Linked DNA regions of Homo sapiens: region 2 is linked to region 1. The links are contacts of gene promoters, found by promoter capture Hi-C in human tissues and cell types (Jung and others, 2019). All regions are on one chromosome and are shown on one strand. The core of a region is centred on a gene start or on the middle of the fragment in contact, and the rest is flanking DNA. Distances in the headings are between cores, read along the strand shown.

What was found. The method cuts DNA at HindIII sites, captures the fragments that hold promoters and counts their contacts. A contact is called where the count stands out against the background at its distance.
Region 2: a fragment that was not itself captured here is called in contact with the fragment with the promoter of DTX4 in region 1 in 1 of the 25 tissues and cell types used here (bladder).

Annotation. Positions count from the first base shown.
Region 1 is chr11:59,170,724-59,173,463 of GRCh38, reverse strand. DTX4 (deltex E3 ubiquitin ligase 4) reads right to left here and starts at 1,332. Exons shown (of 9, transcript NM_015177.2): 1 at 658-1,332. The coding sequence starts at 868. LOC124902601 (basic proline-rich protein-like) reads left to right here and starts at 19. Exons shown (of 2, transcript XM_047427951.1): 1 at 19-199; 2 at 734-2,740. The coding sequence starts at 19. The coding sequence ends at 1,542. RefSeq lists enhancers at 266-375, 1-646, 1,274-1,568, 1,655-2,195 and silencers at 716-765, 826-1,395. The HindIII fragment of the contact is 18,272 bases long and covers 1-2,740 here.
Region 2 is chr11:58,724,764-58,727,503 of GRCh38, reverse strand. All of the region lies in intron 1 of GLYAT (glycine-N-acyltransferase), which reads left to right. Among named protein-coding and RNA genes, the nearest start is that of GLYAT, 5.8 kb to the left of the region's middle. The HindIII fragment of the contact is 6,338 bases long and covers 1-2,740 here.

The DNA.
Region 1 (2,740 bases), core at 83-2,582:
TAGCAGAGGCATTCGCCAATGCCGCGGCGTCCAGGGTACCCCAGCCCTAGTCTCTCCTCCCAGGGAGCCCGGCGCTTCCCTTACCCGACTGTAGCGAGAACCTCCGGGGAATCCCTTCTTCCTCCCCCAGTTCCCACACCCAGGACCCAGCTGCGGGGAGGCATCCCACACAGGAGACGCAGAGGCAGTGAGATCGGGGGTGAGGGGACGTGTGGCAAGCCCCAGCGTGCCTGAAGCAAAACAGGGTCAGGTCAGCCAAGGTGCCGGCCGCCACGGGATGAGGGCAGGAAGCCTTTGCGAAGGGCTGGGATTGCCTGTAGTCTGGGGCGGCCCTAGAATTTCTACATAGAAAGACTTAGGGCCACCAACTGCTGAAAAGCGGGGGCATGAAAGGGGTGGGGAGTGGATTGTTACCGACTAGGTTGAAGCTGGGTTTGCAAAACCACAACACTGATACTATTTGCATGGATGTTTAAGGGGGAGGGAGGATCCTGCGAGGATTCAGCGGAGTGAATCGCCTCCCACCACCACCTCTTGGTGACACTGCTGCACAGAAGTGCCGACTAGGTGGCCAAGGTGGGTTCACAGGGAGGGAGGTACCTTGGCAGGTTGGGAAGGTGGGAGCAGGCGGGGCGGGGTCAGGGGCGGCTGGCTCACCCGTGTCTTGGCGGAACTGGTTCATGGACTGCAGGTCGATGATGTAGGGCGCGAGACGGCTGTCCACCTGGCCCAGCACCACGCTGCCCCCCGCGCGGGGGCCGGCGCGGACCACCGCCTCGATGTGGTGGCTCACCGCTGGGCTGTAGGGACGCCAGCGGCCGTGCTCGTTCAGCCATTCCCAGACCACCACGGCCGAGGCCAGGAGCATGGCGAGCCCGGGGCTGCGGCGCTGCGCGGCCCGCCTCCCGGGCCCCGAGCGCCCGACCTCCTCCGCTTCCTCCTGCGCCGCCGCCTCCGGGCCTCGACCGCGCCCCCTGCCCCGCGCCCCGCCGCCCCGGGCAGCCTCAGCTCCGGCCCATGGGCTCCTCCCCAGCCGTGCATCCACCGGGGCCGGGACACCGGGGCCGCCTGGCTGGGACCGCGCGCCGCCGCCGCCGCCGGGGTCCGCTGCTGCTGCCGCTGCTCTGTGGGGTCGAGTCGCTTCATGCAAATGCCCGGCTCTCTGCAAACAGGCCCCCGCCTTGCAAAAGCCACTCGGCGGGCGCGCGGCCCGAGCCCCGGCGGCCGCGAGCTGGGGCTGACGGCGAGGCAAGGACCCAGCCCTCGCACCAGTTGCGCCTCGGCCTCTGCAGACGCCGGGGTGGGATCTCGCCGCACGGCCGCGCTCGGAATGGCACGCTCTGGTCCCCTCCCCTCTCTCCCTCCCTCCCCACCCCTTCGCCGCACGAATTGCAGTCCCCGCCGCTGGGAGAGCTCCCCCTGCCTGTGGCTCTGCTCAGTTCCTTCCAGAATGAACCACCCCTCCCAAGCAGGGCGCTAAGGCAAACCCGCGCCCGCGTGTGTTTCCCTGGTTCCTTGATGCAGAGAAGCGACCCGCCATGACACGGCCCCGGGACCACCACTGTCGCCCAGCCGCAACTTTGCAGCCTCCTTCCCCCAAATGTAATTTTCTCTCTCTCTCTCTTTTTTTTTCCTTAATGCAGCATGATCAGTGTCCGCAGCGCGAACTGGAGACACGCATTGTCTCGGGGCTTGCGCACGCACTGGCACACTCACAGTCGCACACACACGCGCGCGCACCCCAACTCCTTCCTTGCCCCGGCTCCTATTACCTCATCCTCTCCCGCATCCTTAGCTGTCCGTCAAGGAAGCAGAAGACACGCCCCCTGCTGCTCGGGCGAGTGCCCTGGAGCTTACCCGCCCCCTGCTGGCCTAAAGTGTCGTGTGCCGGCCAGTGGCCACTCCAACCTCTGCTAATGAGACCCAGTCCAAAGGGATGCAGCAATTTCGCTAATGATGGATTTATATTACCTACGTAGAGAGCAAATGTGGTTTTTCTGGCCAGATTCAACGTACTAGAGTCAGGAAGACGCATGTTAGATTAATTTTATCTGCATCGTTTCTGTAACTAAAATTATGAAACACTAGGAAAAACACGAGTTAGACTTATTTTGATCATCAATAGTTAATATGGAAAATAACCTTAAATAGGTAGGTTCTGACTAAAAGGGAAGACTGAAGTCAGGATTATGCATTATCCTTGTCAAAGAACACAAATTTTGTTTTGTTGAGATTGCAAACCACATAAAACAACGAATCGAGTCTTATCAAGATCCAAGTTATAGGATGCGGGAAAGTAAAAATAGATTATGTGTTAGAGAATGGGATTGTGAATCTTTTTGAAATAATCAATTTTTTCATAAATATCATATGACCCTTTTATGTTTTAGAAGAGTTGCTTCCCCCTCCCTCTCCTTGCAGCTGTCATTTCTCCCATTGTTAGAATTTTGCATCCTTCTACCTTTATCTTTCTCCCAACAGAGTTCTAAATACAAAGCAAAAGAAAAAGTGTGAGATCTGTTCTTCTTCAGGCCCCTAAAGGCACCAGGCTCAAGGAACCTCTGAGCTTTGTTCTTTCTGGTCTTCTTGCACAGCTTGGCCTCCAAAATGCCTAGTCGGCCTCTCCCTTATTTGGGGACTGTTCCTAATCCAACCTAAACAATACCACTCATTAAAATGTCGAGTTTCAGAATTAGAAGAACAAAAAGAAAACAAGGATACCTCGACTAATTATATCATA
Region 2 (2,740 bases), core at 107-2,606, 450 kb after region 1:
CCTGGGATTTCCTCTGCTTTTTCAACTAAAAATGGCTCTTTCACAAGAAGCTGCACCCTGTATCTCCTGTTTTCTCTGTGTGATCTGAAATTGTCTTGCACACCTACCAAACTGTCTGGCTTGAAGACAAGTCTGCCTCTTCTTTTACTTCACATGCCATGTGACTTCTTAAACACACACTTCCTGTTATTCATGCACCCATGGCTCTTATTGCATTTGTGCAGCAGCAAAGATAAGAGCTCCCTTGCAGACATCCCCCAAAATTTATAGGTGTTTTTATCCTACAAGCTTGGATGACCTCCAATCCTGTCCCTATCTGTTGGTACATTGCCAAAAAAGACACTAATTGAAACCCCAGCTCTGCCAGTGCTTTATGATTTAACATATGCTTTTTGTTCCTGTCACAACCTAGGGCCAAGTTTTTCTGGGGTTTTTGAAACAGTTTGTCCTCCTGCATAGGGCTATGACACTTTAAGGATCTCACCTACTTGCTTTTTTCTTTTTTTTTTGAGTCAGCACTTCTTAAGGGGAGGGGAAATTCTTCCTTTACCATTAGCAAGTTCTTGCCCTAAGTCCCAAGGCCTCCAGAGGTTCCTCCTTTATGTCGAGGGCAAATAAACATTGCTCTCTCAAATCCAAGCATTGCTGTTTTTGTAAGCATATGAAGGCTTTTCATGAGGTTTTTCTCGCTTCCTCCTACTTCCTCCTGTAGTCTCCATTTCTCTAATCACTCCTACTCCCTTTTCAATATGCTGCAAGACCTTCAAGGTCATATTTAAAGGGAGGGAAGTCCAGCCCCCTTATGGCAGTTATTTTCTTTGTAATACTTGGCCTAAGAATGGAATGAGAGAAAATTACAAAAGTCAATCTTGGAACCCAGTACCCTTATGCAGGAAATTCTCAAATTAGCCTTCTCAGTCTTTTATAATGAAGAACAGAATAAGGAGGACAGGGCTAAGAAAAAGTAGAAATGCAGGGACCAGAGGCAGGTATATTGTCTTCTCAATACTCAAGAGTCACCCTTCTACAGGGGACCCCTAGGCTGCCCATCAGTGAGACATGACAGAATTGAAATCCTCCCCCTGTCCCCCTTGAACCTGGCTGGCTACTACTGCCCTGACAGCTAGCAAGAGGCCAAATCCACAGAACAACCACTACTACCCCTCTGTCAGCAGGAAGCAGTTATAGAAGACTGACCTTTGTCTATATTCCCCAAATAATTGGGGTCTTGAACTCATGGTGGGGGAAATGTTACACAAGGTAGATAGTCAGGCATGAGTAGGGCAGGAGAAGGCTCCATGCCCCACATCCCACACCCAGATATGTCAGGCAACCATCAGGTGATGGTCCAGTGGTTGTTAACTGTCTCTCTAAAATAATAATTGGTCACAGCCAGTGCCAGCCAGGTTCAGTCTCCGAATACAAAAAAAAACCAAACCTGAAAATGGTGATCAGCAGCTTCCTGACAAGACCTCAGGAGTTGGGCAAGCAGGCTTAAGCATGTGCATTCAGAGGCAAAATGACAGAGTTTAATTATGATATGAACTTCTAGGGACATTTGACTGGTAAGGGAGAATGCCTTAAGTTAGCATGCATACAACTCTATGCTCACACTACACATGCTCACCTCCCACATGCTAGCAGGCTGCTGAACATGTGGACAGCCCACCCCCATGGGAAGAATCAGGGGAGAATGGACACAAGACCCCAAAATTATGCCTACATATAAAACTCAGTCAAAAGGTCCAACTGCACACTTGATCTCTCAGGTCGCCCACTTGGCCCCCTTCCAAATGCACTTTACTTCTTTTCCCTCCTGCTCTGATGTTTTTAACAAACATTTACTGCTACCCCAAAACTTGCCTTGGTCTCTCCTTCTGCCTTCTGCCCCTCAGTCAAATTCTTTCTGTTGAGGAGGCAAGAATTGAGGATGCTACAGACCTGTACAGATGCACCACCAGTAAAGGCTTTTCACTGATGTTCTAAAATCACAAGGTTACCTAGTTATGGAATCTTGCATCAGACCAGTTTTAATGCAACACTCTCTCATAGCCCTACCTTCACTTAGAAGTTACTTTGCTCTCTTCCAAACATCACAGTTCCAAAATAGAACACAGTGACACAACATCTTTCTTCATTTTTCAGGTAGTTGTGATGTTATGAAGTGTTTAGGTAATCCCAATTTGATGCAGCTAGTCAAATATGTAAAAATGCTATTTTTGTATTACTTAGTAATTTCTACAAAATGTACCACAGATCCTAGTATAAGGCTTAAAGATGGAATTAGCCTCAAAGTGTGAGGCTTGGTGAAAGTACAAGTTTTGAATATGATGCAGTAATAATTTTTGAAAGGTTAATTGTTTATATTTAGACCATGTCAGAATGCCCTTTATTAAAATGCCTATATCAAAACATCATGCAATATATAGGACTTTGGCTCAAGTGGGGGAAAGAAGAAAAGGAAGAGGAGGAAAAGAGGAGTGGTGGTAGTAATCAAATAAATAACAAATGTTCAGTGCTTAATATAAGACCTACAATCTACTAAGCACATTGCAGGTATTCATTCCTTTAATCCTTACAAAAATTCTGAGTGATATAGTGCTATTATCCCAACTACCTTTGAGGAAACCAAGGTACAGAGAGACTAAATAACTTTCCCAAGGTTACACAGCTCGTTCTCAGAGGAGTCAGGAGAATCACTAATAGCAACTAAAATTCAAAAGATATTATGTGTATTTAA